Regions from separate parts of the Homo sapiens genome. Here regions 2 and 3 are each linked to region 1. The links are contacts of gene promoters, found by promoter capture Hi-C in human tissues and cell types (Jung and others, 2019). All regions are on one chromosome and are shown on one strand. Each heading gives the region's core, a stretch centred on a gene start or on the middle of the fragment in contact. The rest is flanking DNA. Distances are from core to core; before and after follow the strand shown. Region 1 holds the start of LHPP (phospholysine phosphohistidine inorganic pyrophosphate phosphatase). Region 2 overlaps EEF1AKMT2 (EEF1A lysine methyltransferase 2). Region 3 has its middle 46 kb from the start of ABRAXAS2.

Region 1 (4,459 bases), core at 586-3,085:
GGTGCGGTGGCTCACGCCTGTAATCCCAGCACTTTAGAAGGCCCAGGCAGGTGGATCAGTTGAGGTCAGGAGTTCGAGACCAGCCTAGCCAGTATGGTGAAACCCCATGTCTACCAAAAATACAAAAATTAGCTGGGCGTGGTGGCGGGTGCCTGTAATCCCAGATACTTGGGAGGCTGAGGCAGGAGAATCACTTGAACCTGGGAGGCAGAGGTTGCAGTGAGCCCAGATGGCGCCACTGCACTCCGGCCTGGGCAACAAGAGCAAAACTGTCTCAAAAAAAAAAAAGTGTCCTCATGGTCAAGTCTTGGCTGGCACGATGTTCTCTTCCTCCTCCTCTCACCTAAACCAATGCAGTCCAACAGAATTATAATGAGAGCCACAAAGGTAATTTAAAGTTTTCTAATAAGCACATTAACAAAAGTTAAAAAAAAAAGGTATACTTAATTTCAAATATTTTAACCTAAAACAGTATATTAAAAATATTATCAACTGGGCATGTGGCTCACGCCTATAATCCCAGCACTTTGGGAGGCCGAGGCAGGTGGATCACCTGAGGTCAGGAGTTAGAGACCAGCCTGCCCAACATGGTGAAACCCCGTCTCTACTAAAAATACAAAAAATTAGCCGGGTGTGGTGGCACATGCCTGTAATTCCAGCTATTCAGGAGGCTGAGGCAGGAGAATCGCTTGAACCTGGGAGGCGGCGGTTGCAGTCAGCAGAGATTGCACCACTGCATTCCAGCCTGGGCAACAAGAGCAAAACTCCGTCTCAAACAAAACAAATAAAAAAAGTAACTGGGCATGATGGCGGGTGCCTGTAATCCCAGCTACTCGGGAGCCTGAAGGGGGAGAATCACTTGCACCCGGGAGGCGGAGGTTGCAGTGAGCCGAGATCGTGCCATTGCACTCCAGCCTGGGCGACAGAGCAAGACTCCATCTGAAAAGAACAAAACAAAACAAACAAAAAGTATATCATTTCAACAGGCAAACAACATAACCCATTTTCATGTTTTTATTTTACATTTTACTCACGAAGTCTGGTGTTTTTGGGGGTTTTGTTTATGAGACCGTCTCGCTCTGCAGTCCAGGCTAGAGTACAGTGGGGTGATCACAGCTCACTGTAGCCTTGACCTCCTGGGCTCAAGCGATCCTCCTGCCTCAGCCTCCCAAGTGGCTGGGCCTACAGGCGTGCACCACCACACCCGGCTAATTTTTAAATTTTTGGCAGAGACGGGGTCTCCCTATGTTGCCCAGGGTGGTCTCCAACCCCCTAGCCTCAAGCGATCCTCCCTCCTCTGCCTCTGCAAGTGCTAGAATCACAGATGCGAGCCACCGCGCCCGGCTAAGTCTTGTTAATCGGTATGCATTTTACGCTTACAGCACATCTCAATTCAGACTGGCCGCAGGTCAAGCGCTCAGCAGCGCACGTACCAGGTGGCCGCCCTGTCTGACCGCGCAGCCCTAACCAGCAGAGTCCTGGTGCTCGCCGGGGGCAACAGTGGGGTCGTCCGTGGTCAGCACTGTGCGCGCACCGGGGTGGGAAGGGGGAGACCGAGGCGGGGCCTGCGCCGCGGCCCCGCCCCCTGCCGCCCCGCCCCCTGCCGGCAGCCAGGGAGCGGGCTGAGCTTAGAGCTCGGCGGCCCCAGCGGCGTCCCGGGGCCCACTCACCTGGCCACCGCCTCCACCGAGCCGGCGATGGCCGTGCCGCCGCCCGCGCCGCTGTCGTACAGCACGCCCGAGATGTCAAGCAGCACCCCGCGCACGCCAGCCAGCCGCTTGCCCCACGGTGCCATGGCGCCCGGCCCTGCTCCTCAGCTCCGCGTCCCAACCGACGCCGGCGCCGGCGCCGCGGCCGCGCAGGGGCGCCTGGGAACTGTAGTCCCGCGGGCGGGGCAGGGCAAGAAGACCGGGTGCAAACCCGGAACTGGGGCGCGGCCTGGGCACCCCGGCGTCACTCGCCCCTGAAACGGTGTCCTTTTCGGAAGCTTTCTTCCCAGGAGATCAGCGGACAAAGAGCAGGAAAAGCAGAAAACAAGTCCCTAAGAAAGGTCAAAGGCAAATTGAGACAAGAAGGCACCTGTAGCCAGGGGCGGTGGTTCACGCCTGCAATCCCAGCACTTTGGGAGGCAGAAGCGGGCGGACAGCTTGTGCCCAGGAGTTCTAGACCAACCTAGTCAACATAGTGAGACCCTGTCTCTATTAAAGAAAGAAAGAAAAAGTACAATACAAAATTGAGGCCGGGCGTAGTGGCTTATGCCTGTAATCCCAGCACTTTGGGAGGCTGAGGCGGGTGGATCGCTTGAGATCAGGAGTTCGAGACCAGCCTGGTCAACATGGTGAAACCCCTGTCTCTACTAAAAATACAAAAATCACCTAGGTGTGGTGGCGCATGCCTGTAGTCCCAGCTACTCGGTAGGCTGAGGCGGAAGAACCGCTTGAACCTGGGAGGCGGAGGTTGCAGTGAGCCGAGATTGCACCACTGCACTCCAGCCGGGGCGACAGAGCAAGACTTTGTCTTAAAAAAAAAAAAAATTATATGCAGATAACAGCCCTGCATAGATGAGGATGCATAGGACCTGGGCTGAGAAGAAAACGGGACTATCACAATGCGTTAAACCCAGGAGGTTTTTGGATAAGCTATAAAATACCACTCGATGCTACATTATTTTTGCAATAAATACACATTGATATTAAAAGGGAGGAGTTTCCTCAATGGCCCCTCGGAACCTTTCAAGTTATTAAATAGAAACGAGAACACTTTACTTCTGGTCCAACATAGCTTTGAGCTTTCAAAGAAGAGAGGATCATATTATTTCACCATTTCTTTTCAGGCTCTTGATTCACAGAAAGGATGAGGAATTCGTTGAAATGTTATGGGGTTCAATGAATTGTGTATATTTTGTTGACATGCTTACTAGGGGAGCTGTTTACAAGTGAAATAAAATACAGTTCCTACCCTTTGGGATTTCCACTAATGGGGTTGGGGAGTAGTATACCTTATATAAGGGTTCTTAGTCGCAGACAATAGACACCACTCCAGCTAGAGGGGTTTTGTTTACATGAGGTGAAGGAGCTTACAGATGACGGGTCTAAGTCCTACACAGCCAGGAGCCATGCAGCCACGAGAAACACTTAATTTTACTACTCCATTGGGACCACTGCCCCATCACTTAGTGCAGCCCCCAGCATAGCTGCCCCCAAAAGAACAAAACATATCCACCACTGTGCCCTCCACCTGTGGCCACCCACTCACTTTCACTGTGTCTGGCTTGGTGGAACCTAGCCCACGCTGCAAAGGAGTCTGGGAAATGCAGTTTTTAGTGTTCCAGGGGCTGAGTGAGTCAGTTTGGAGAATCTGCTAGGAACATCATGAACCGTACACGTATTGAGACCCTACTCTGTGCAGTGGGCACAAAAAAGTTCTAGGGTGTGATCCTTGCCTTCCAGGATCAAGACTGGGCAGAGAACAATGGAAGACCTTCACGACTGCTGACCAAATGTGTGCCAAGTGGCAATGAGTGACACAGACACAGTCAAGAGGATGACCTCTGCAGGCCTAGGAGGGCAGCTGTGGCTTCTGGGCAGGGGCAGCCTGAAATGGACCTTGGAGAATGGCTGGGCTTTAGCTTCATGCCAAGGAGGAGGAAAAGGGGTGCTTCTGCCAGTGGTGTGAGCCTACCCATAGTTGTTTCTTTTCAGTCAGCTCTGTGGGTACTCTTGGGCAAGTCCCTTTTCATTTCTACGACTACAGTAGACAGAATAGTGCCCCCTTGAGATGTCCACCTCCCAATCCCCACAACCTCTAAATATATTACCTGACATGGCAAAAGGGACTTAGATCTTGCAGAGCCTATGCTCCTGTAGGGAGATTATCCTGGATGGTCCAGGTGGGCCCAGTATAATGACATGAGTCCTCATAAGGGAAAGAGGGAAGCAGGAGAGAGTCAGAGTCAGAGAAGGAGGTGTGACAGCAGAAGCAGAGGTCAGAGAGAGAGGTGTGAAGATACCGTGCTACTGGCCTTGAATACAAAGGGGCCATGAGCCAAGAAATGCAGGTGGCCTCTGGAAGCTAAAAAAGGCAAAGAATTGGATTCTCCCCTAGAGCCTCCAGAAGGAATGCAGCCCTGCTGGTACTTCAAGTTTAGGACTTCTTACCTCCAGAACTATAATAATAAATCTGTTGTTTTAAGCCACTAAGTATATGGTAATTTCTTGCAGTAGTGACAAGAAACAAATACAGGGATCCAGGTCCCTCACCTGAAAAATGTGGCAAGTCTCTAAGTGTGGGCCACTGATAGGCTAAAACTTGATCTGAAAATTCCAGGCTTTTCTTGGGATGCAATGAGTGTAGGGCATTGTCTATGTTAGGGTTGCATTTGGCTACATGTAACAGAAACCCAGCCATAGTTGCCCAACCAAATCAGATTTTACTTTTCCTCATATATCAAGAAGCCAAG
Region 2 (4,294 bases), core at 25-2,524, 320 kb before region 1:
GTTCCTGTGTAGATTACAATATATATAGTTGTCAAAATCTCCTTGGAATCAGTATTTTACCACTATAAGTGGAATGTGAAAACCTTATCATGTTGGGTTCTTGATCTTTCACCTTTATGTTGTAGTTGTCTTTACTATTACCTTTATGTTGAAAATTCCATTAGATAATATTATGATTTTTTTCAAACATTTTAAGGAATGCACTAGGAGAAGAATATTTAATTATATTCACCTAGATATTTATTTCACCTTTGTATTCTGGATCTCCTGAGCTTTTTTTTTTTCTTTCTGTCTAAGAAATTCTTCTTGGAAATTATTTTAGAGAGGGTTTTCTTGCAACAAATTTTTTTTGTTTTCCTTTACCTGAGAATAGCTTTATTTCACCTTCATTCCTAAGGAGTGTTTTTTTTTTTTTTTTGGCTGAATATAGAATCTTTTTTTTTTTTGAGACACAGTCTCACTCTGTCACCCAGGCTGGAGTGCAGTGGCACAATCTCACAATCTCGGCTCACTGCAACCTTCGCCTCCTGGGTTCAAGCGATTGATTCTTCTGCCTCAGCCTCCCGAGTAGCTGGGATTATAGGTGTCCACCACCACACCCGGCTACTTTTTGTGTTTTTAGTAGAGATGGGGTTTCACCATGTTGGCCGGGCTGGTCTCGAATTTCTGACCTCGGATGATCTGCCTGCCTCAGCCTTCAAAAGTGCTGGGATAACAGGCGTGAGCCACCGCAGCCGGCCTGAATATAGAATTCTGAGCTAGCCGTTTCTTTCAGTACTTTAAAAATGTTATGGGCTGGGCACGGTGGCTCACGCCTGTAATCCCAGCATTTTGGGAGGCCGAGGCGGGCAGATCACGAGGTCGGGAGATCGAGACCATCCTGGCCAACATGGTGGACCCCCATCTCTACTAAAATACAAAAAATTAGCCGGGCGTGGTGGCATGCCCTTGTAGTCCCAGCTACTCAGGAGACTGAGGCAGGGGAATAGCTTGAACCCGGGAGGCGGGGGTTGCAGTGAGCCAAGATCGCGCCACTGCATTCCAGCTTGGCAGCAGAGCAAGACTCCGTCTCAAAAAAAAAAAGTTACGTCACTTGTTTTTGACTTCCATGTTTTCTCATGAGGAATCTGCAGTCATTTGAATTGTTGTTTTCCTATGAATGCATCATTTTTCTAGATGCTTTTAAGATTTTTTTTCTTTGTCTTTTGTTTTTTGCAGTTTGCTTATGATGTGTGCTGTGGCTTGGATTTCTTTGGCTTATCCTATTTGGTGTTCACTGAACTTTTTACATCTGTAAGCTTATGTCTTTTGCCAGATTTGCGATATTTCTAGCTTTTGTTTTTTCTATTTTTTTTTTCTGTATTACTGTCTTTCTCCTTTCATTTTGGGAGTCTATACACATGAAATGTCAATTTTTCTGTTGCTCCACAGGTCCCCGTGAACTCCACAGGTTCAATTTTTTAAAAGTCATTTTTGTCTTTGTCGGCCAAATGTTATATTTCAATTGATCTGTCTTCAGATTCACTGACTTTTTCTCTGTCACCTTCATTTTGCTGTTAAGTCCACACATTGCAATTGGCTGACATGTCTTAATTTTTTACTGCATGATTTCTTTATTTACCATTACGATTTATTTTTTGTAGGAGGTAGTTCATTTGTCTGAATGGTTTTTCACAATGTGAATTTTCTAATTACATCTCTATAGTATTTAACATGTTTTCTGTCCCTCGTGTTGTCTGTACGTTGGAAATTAGACCTAAATTAAGGGTCAGCAAACCACAGTCTACGGGTCAAATCTGGACCTCCTTTGTTTTTATAAATATTTGTTGGAATACAGCCACATTTATTCATTTGCATATTGTCTATGGCAGCTTAAGTGTTGCATTGGTAGAGTTGACTGGTTGTAACAGAGACTGTATGGCTGGCAAAGCCTAAAATATTTATTCTGTTTCTTTTTGTTTTTTGAGACAGAGTCTTGCTCTGTCGCCCAGGCTGGAGTGCTGGAGTGCAGTGGCGTGTGATCTTGGCTCACTGTAAGCTCTGCCTCCTGGGTTCACACCATTCTTTTGCCTCAGCCTCCCGAGTAGCTGGGACTACATGTGCCCGCCACCACGCCTGGCTAATTTTTTGTATTTTTTAGTAGAGACGGGGTTTCACTCTGTTAGCCAGGATGGTCTCGATCTCCTGACCTCAGGATCCACCCACCTTGGCCTCCAAGAGTGCTGGGATTACAGGCGTGAGCCACCACGCCTGACTATTCTGTTTCTTTTTTTTTTTTTTTTTTTTTTTGAGATGGAGTCTCGCTCTGTCGCCCAGGCTGGAGTGCAGTGGTGCAGTCTTGGCTCACTGCAAGCTCCACCTCCCAGGTTCACACCATTCTCCTGCCTCAGCCTCCTGAGTAGCTGGGACTACTGGCACCCGCCACCACGTCCGGCTAATTTTTTGTATTTTTTTAGTAGAGACGGGGTTTCACTGTGTTAGCCAGGATGGTCTCGATCTCCTGACCTCGTGATCCACCCGCCTCGGCCTCCCAAAGTGCTGGGATTACAGGCGTGAGCCACTGCGCCCAGCCACTATTCTGTTTCTTTATAGAAAATGGTTGCTGGCTGGGCATGGTGGCTCACACCTATAATCCCAGCACTTTGGGAGGCCAAGGTGGAAGGTTTGTTTGAGCTCAAGAGTTTGAGACCAGCCTGGGCAACATGGTGAAACCCCGTGTCTACTAAAGACACAGAAAAATAGCCAGGTGTCGTGGTGTGTCCTTGTAATTCCAGTTACTCAGGAGGCTGAGGTGGGAGAATCGCTTGAGCCTGGGGAGGTTGAGGCTGCAGTGAGCTGTGATCACGCTGTTGCATTCCAGTCTGGGTGACAGAAGGAAACCCTGTTTCCATAAAAAAAAGAAAAAGATTGCTGACCCTGGATTGAGAGATTTTTATTAGATTTTTTTTTTTGGCAAGTAAACTTATTAGGTGTTGGTGTATATTTGCATATGTGGCGTAGAATATTTGGTGTAGAACATTCATCTTTTTGTTATATTAACAGCCATTGAAGACCATTTCTTATACGTACTACTTTTTCATTGATCAGCTACATTTTTGATGGTTACTTTTCCTACATTTTTGATGGATGTTTTTGCTATATCATTTTAGGTTACTATTTTTCTTTTACTATCTTCTGGCTTCCATTCTTTATCACTTATTGTTAGCTATAAGCCTTATCATCATCCTTTTAAAGGTAATCTGTCGCCTTGTATCCCACATCCCTACTCCCTGGATGTTTTTGAGATTTTTCTGTTTTTCTTTTTTTTTTTTTTTGGTACGGAGTCTCACGCCGTCACCCAGGCTGGAGTGCCATGTGCCATCTCTGCTCACTGCAACCTCTGCTTCCGGGGTTCAAGTGATTCTCTTGCCTCAGTCTCCCGAGTAGCTGGGATTACAGGCATGTGCCACCACACCTGGCTAATTTTTGTATTTTTAGTAGAGACGGGGTTTCACCATATTGGCCAGGCTGGTCTCGAACTCCTGACCTTAGGTGATCCGCCTGCCTTGGCCTCCCAAAGTGCTGGTATTACAGGCATAAGCCACCATGCTGAGCTGATTTTTCTGTTTTTGTTTTTCATCAGATACACTATGATGTGTCTAGGTGGAGTTTGCTTTCATCTGCCTTGAATTTATACTGTTTCTTGAATCTGAGGCTTGGGTCCTTTGTCACTATTGGAGTATTCTTAGCCATATGCCATTTTTTCTTCTGCCCTATTCTCATTTCCTTTCCTCTCAGATTCCACATATGGATTGGGTATACATATATGTTTGTGTGTATGTATGTGTGTGTGTGTGTGTATGTATAGACTGTGTGTTAAAATTGTCTATACATACACACTATAACCTCCAACTCCGGAGCTCACTATAACCTCCAACTCCTGGGTTCAAGCGATTCTCCTGCCTCAGCCTCCCAAGTAGCTGGGATTACAGGCACCCGCCACCACGCCTGGCTAATTTTGTGTGTTTAGTAGAGATGGGGTTTCACCATGTTGGCCACGCTGGTCTCGAACCCCTGTGGATATAGAGGGTTGTGTGTGTGTGTATGTATATATAGTCATACACTACATAACAATGTTTCAGTTGAAATGTACCACATATACAATGGTGGTCCTATAAGATTATAATACTGTATTTTTACCCTTTCTATGTACAGATATCTTTAGGGCTGGGCACAGTGGCTCATGCCTGTAATCCCAGCACTTTGGGAGGCCAAGGCAGGTGGATAACTTGAGCTCAGGAGTTCAAGACCAGCT
Region 3 (4,665 bases), core at 994-3,493, 390 kb before region 1:
TGCCAGTCACATAGGTATGTTCACTTTGTGAAAATCTGACAAGCTATACATTTATGATTTGTGTCCTTTTTTGTATATATGTTACACCTTGATAAAAATTTACTCGAACAAAAGAGAAGGGGAGTGAAGGGGTGGGGAGAGAGGGAGGGTTGGAGAACAGAGAGAAAGAGTGAAGGAGGGAGAGAAGATGCTAACAAAACGGGGCTGCACATGAGTCCCACCTGCTCTCCAGGTGCCTGGAGCACCCTCTCCCAGCGTCTGCTCAGGCACAGTGCACTCAGGCCGGGTCGGCAGCAGATGGCTAGAGCAAGGTGCCAGGGCTCTCTCTCGCCATCCTCTTTCTCCTGAGGGCTTGGATGTCACTCAGCCTCGCCCATAACTCTGTGCCCACTCTCCCTGGGTGGGTGGAGATTTGAATGCCAGCCTCCGGATGAAGAAGGGGATTAATTTGATCCTCCACCTGGGTACCTCTGAGCAGGCAGGCCGAGGACTGAGCAAGTGGAAGGTGTGGATGAGCTGCAGAAATGAGGTTGGCTTCTGCTTGATGCAGCCTTCCCTGTCACGTCCTGAGCAGGGGGAGGAGTGTGCTTGTCAGGACAAGGGTCACCGAGATTGCAGCTGCCCCAGGCGAGCTCCCCTTATGCTTCCCGCTCTGGCCTGTCTGCATCCAAGGTGCCAGGACACTGTGAAGAGCGTCCCAGGCTGGGCTGAGGACAGCCACGCTTCCTGAGCAGGATGCCAAGCCCCGTGGGGCCCAGAGCAAATGCTCCAGCCTGTCCTTTGTTTATTTCAATCTGGGACAAATGTTGCCGGAGAGGATCTCTACTATCCTTTCCTGTGCTGACATTCTCCAAGCCCGTCATGGTCTGGAGCAGACACAGCTGTAAGAGGAGGCAGGAGGCCTGGGCTCTGGGTCTTTCAGTGGCTTTGTGACCTTGGGCCCATCATCATGCTACTCTTGCCTCGGTTGTTCCCTCTTTGTGAAATGAGGGGTCAGCATCCTATGTCATCCAATTTGGTAACCATTAGCCATATGGCATGCAGCTTCTTAAATCTAGATTTAAATGAATTAAAATTGAATGAAATTTAAAACTTGGGCCAGGTGCAGTGACTCACACCTGTAATGCCAGAACTTTGAGAGGTGGCGGTGGATCGGAAGGGGGGGTGGATCGCTTGAGGCCAGGAGTTCAAGGGCAACCTGGGCAACAAATTGAGACCTCGTTTTTTTCTTTGTTTGTTTGTTTGTTTTCGAGACGGAGTCTTGCTCTGTCACCCAGGTTGGAGTGCAATGGCTCGATCTCGGCTCACCACAACCTCTGCCTCCCAGGTTCAAGCCATCCTCCTCCCGAGTAGTTGGGATTGCAGGCGCACGCCACCACACCCTGCTAATTTTTCTATTTTTAGTAGAGACGGGGTTTCACCATGTTGGTCAGGCTGGTCTCGAACTCCTGATCTCGTGATCCGCCCGCCTCGGCCTCCCAAAGTGCTGGGATAACAGGCGTGAGCCACTGCGCCTGGCCCCAAGACCCCCGTTTTTACAAAACAGGGTCTCTCCCCCAGGCTGAAGTGCAGTGGCACCATCTCAGCTCACTGCAACCTCCACCTCCTGGGTTCAAGCAACTCTCCCTGACTCAGCCTCCCGAGTAGCTGGGATTACAGGTGCCCACCAGCATGCCCGGCTAACTTTTGTAGTTTTAGTAGAGACAAGGTTTCACCATGTTGGCCAGGCTGGTCTCGAACTCCTGACTTCAGGTGATCCACCCACCTCGGCCTCCCAAAGTGCTGGGATTACAGGCGTGAGCCACCACACCCGGCCAAAATTTTTCTTTTTTAAATTAGCCAGTCATGGTGGCACATGTCTGTAGTTCCAGCTGCATAGGAGGCTAAGGTAGGAGGATCATTTGAACCCACGAGGTCGAGGCTGCAGGGAGCCATGATTGCACTACTATACTCCAACCTGAGTGACAGCAAGATGCTGCCTCAAAAAAACCTCAATTCTTTCGCCTTGCTAGCTGCGTTTCAAGTGCTCAGTAGCAACGTGTGACTGACTGCTGGCTCCTGTACTAAATAGTGCAGTTCCTTTTTTTTTTTTTTTTTTTTGAGACAGAATCTCCCTTTGTCACCCAGGCTGGAGTGCTGTGGTGTGATCTCTGCTTACTGCAACCTCCGCCTCCCAGATTCAAGTGATTCTCCTGCCTCAGCCTCCTGAGTAGGTGGGATTACAGGCACTTGCCACCACGCCCAGCTAATTTTTTATATTTTTGGTAGAGATGGGGTTTCACCATGTTGGCCAGGTTAGTCTCAAACTCCTGACCACAAGTGTTCTGCCCGCCTCGGCCTCCCAAAGTGCTGGGATTACAGGCATGAGCCACCACACCCGGCCATGTGGTTATATGACCTTTTAAAATTTTTCTGGGCTGGGCGTGGTGGCTCACGCCTGTAATCCTAGCACTTTGGGAGGCCGAGGCGGGTGGTTCACGAGGTCAGGTGTTCAAGACCATCCTGACCAACATGGTGAAACCCCGTCTCTACTAAAAACACAAAAATTAGCTGGGTGTGGTGGCAGGTGCCTGTAGTCCCAGCTACTTGGGAGGCTGAGGCAGGAGAATCACTTGAACCCGGGAGTCAGAGGTTGCAGTGAGCCGAGATCACGCCACTGCACTCCAGCCTGGGTGAAAGAGCGAAACTCCGTCGCAAAAAAATAAAATAAAATTTTTCTGAGCAAAGTTTGCCCAAAGCCCAATCTAATCAACAGATAAAATGAGGAAGAGGTGGCCTGATCCCCCCGTGTTTCCCACAATGATCCCCAGCCTCCTTCGTGGGGCCCCACCTGAAAAGAAGGTCTGAGCACAGCAGTCCTAAGCTTACAACACCAGTTGACCTCTGGTCTATAAAACAATGCCTCTTGGAAGAAGACTTAGTTCAAGACAACAGTAGCCACAACTTATCAGAGTTTATTGTCTTCCAGGCTTGTTTTAAGGCTTCTACACTCTAACTCACATAATCCTTCAATATCCTACGAAAAAAGTATTACCATCCATCCATATTTACTGTACCTATAGATGAGGCTCAGAAAGGTTGAGTAACTTGCCCAGGGCACACAGTTATGGAAATGGCAGGGCTGAAATTCAAGCCCCAGGTGAGTCTGACTCCAAAGCCCACTGTTGTAAGCTACTTCCCAGACCTGGGATGGAGGGCCAGGAATCTCCTGAGGTCACCACACCAGAATGCGGGTCTCCATCACCACTGGACAGCGAGTGAGTGTGTACAGAGAATCTTGGTGTTTCCCCGGGACAGAGGTGTGCTTGGGGAAAAGGGGCTCAGGAGAGAAGCCAGGGCTGAATGGACAGGGAATCAATCCTTCCAGCTGGACCAAAGCTGATGGCCTGGGGAAGTGGTGGGGAGCAGAGATAGTCCCTCCGCTCTGAAAGGAAAGAGGATGGGAAGTCTGCTCTTACAGAACACCCCGTGGCAGGAGGGATGGCCCCCATTACTTGGAGGACACACTGGCTTAAGGCATTTTGAGGAGGCCAGCTCTGGTTTCCTCGCCTCCTGCCACACCCTCCCAGTGGATTTCTCCCCTGTGGTTCTTCTTTAAGCCACAGTCGCTGTTCATCCAGGAGTGTTCAGTTCTTCTCGTCTGTAAAGCCTGTAAGTGATTACACTGAACATAGAGTTGTACTGGCCTGGATGGCCCAGGATGCTACAAGGCTTTGCCAATGTCTCCCGGGGGAAAAACAAGCTACTATAGCAGGGTGGACGGCGTCCTACAAAACCACCATTCCCTTAATACCATTTGATTTGGATCCTTGGATTCAGTTTACACAGAGGTCAGGTGACCAACCATCTAGAGGAGTTTCCAGGACCTGGAGATGTCAATGCTAAAACCAGGAGGATCCTGGCAAACCAAGACAGTTGGTCACCCTCACGAGTGGCTACTGTCCAAGAAACTCATCCTTACTTTCAAAATGCTGCTGGTCCCATGGACTTCATCACCGGAGGTCATTTTTAGAAATGTCAACTGGAGAATGAGGATGAGGATGGCGGCCATGCGTCCATGCTGCTGACGGCCAGGCAGGACCACAGAGTCGCCCAGGTCATCGATGCACACGAACATGTCCATGCACCCAGGAGCTTGGAACCCCTCAGTCAATACCATGCAGTTGTGAAACCGGAGGAAAACTGTGGCATGGGCTGAATGCGGTGGCTCACACCCGTAATCCCAGCACTTTGGGAGGCTGAGGTGGGCAGATCGCTTGAGCCCAGGAGCTAGAGACCAGCCTGGGCAACATAGTGAGACCTCATTTCTACAAAAAATTTAAAAAATTTTTTCTTTTGAGATGGAGTCTCGCTCTGTCACCCAGGCTGGAGTGCAGTGGTGAGATTTCGGCTCACAGCAAGCTCCGCCTCCCAGCTTCACTGCATTCTCCTGCCTCAGCCTCCCAAGTAGCTGGGACTACAGGCGCCCGCCACCATGCCTGGCTAAATTTTTGTATTTTTAGTAGAGATGGGGTTTCACCGTGTTAGCCAGGATGGTCTCGATCTCCTGACCTTGTGATCCACCTGCCTCAGCCTCCCAAAGTGCTGGGATTACAGGCGTGAGCCACCGCGCCCAGCCTAAATTTTTTTTTTTTTAATTAGCCAGGCTGGCCTGGGATAACAGGC

The links. The method cuts DNA at HindIII sites, captures the fragments that hold promoters and counts their contacts. A contact is called where the count stands out against the background at its distance.
Region 2: a fragment that was not itself captured here is called in contact with the fragment with the promoter of LHPP in region 1 in 1 of the 25 tissues and cell types used here (spleen).
Region 3: a fragment that was not itself captured here is called in contact with the fragment with the promoter of LHPP in region 1 in 1 of the 25 tissues and cell types used here (IMR-90 fibroblasts).

The regions. Positions count from the first base shown.
Region 1 is chr10:124,459,199-124,463,657 of GRCh38, reverse strand. It overlaps LHPP (phospholysine phosphohistidine inorganic pyrophosphate phosphatase), which reads right to left and starts at 1,835. Exons shown (of 7, transcript NM_022126.4): 1 at 1,671-1,835. The coding sequence starts at 1,795. RefSeq lists a silencer at 1,496-1,955. The HindIII fragment of the contact is 8,477 bases long and covers 1-3,334 here.
Region 2 is chr10:124,777,743-124,782,036 of GRCh38, reverse strand. The region is part of intron 3 of EEF1AKMT2 (EEF1A lysine methyltransferase 2); the gene reads left to right. Among named protein-coding and RNA genes, the nearest start is that of EEF1AKMT2, 12 kb to the left of the region's middle. The HindIII fragment of the contact is 3,768 bases long and covers 1-3,158 here.
Region 3 is chr10:124,845,286-124,849,950 of GRCh38, reverse strand. No RefSeq gene overlaps it. Among named protein-coding and RNA genes, the nearest start is that of ABRAXAS2, 46 kb to the right of the region's middle. The HindIII fragment of the contact is 5,094 bases long and covers 1-4,665 here.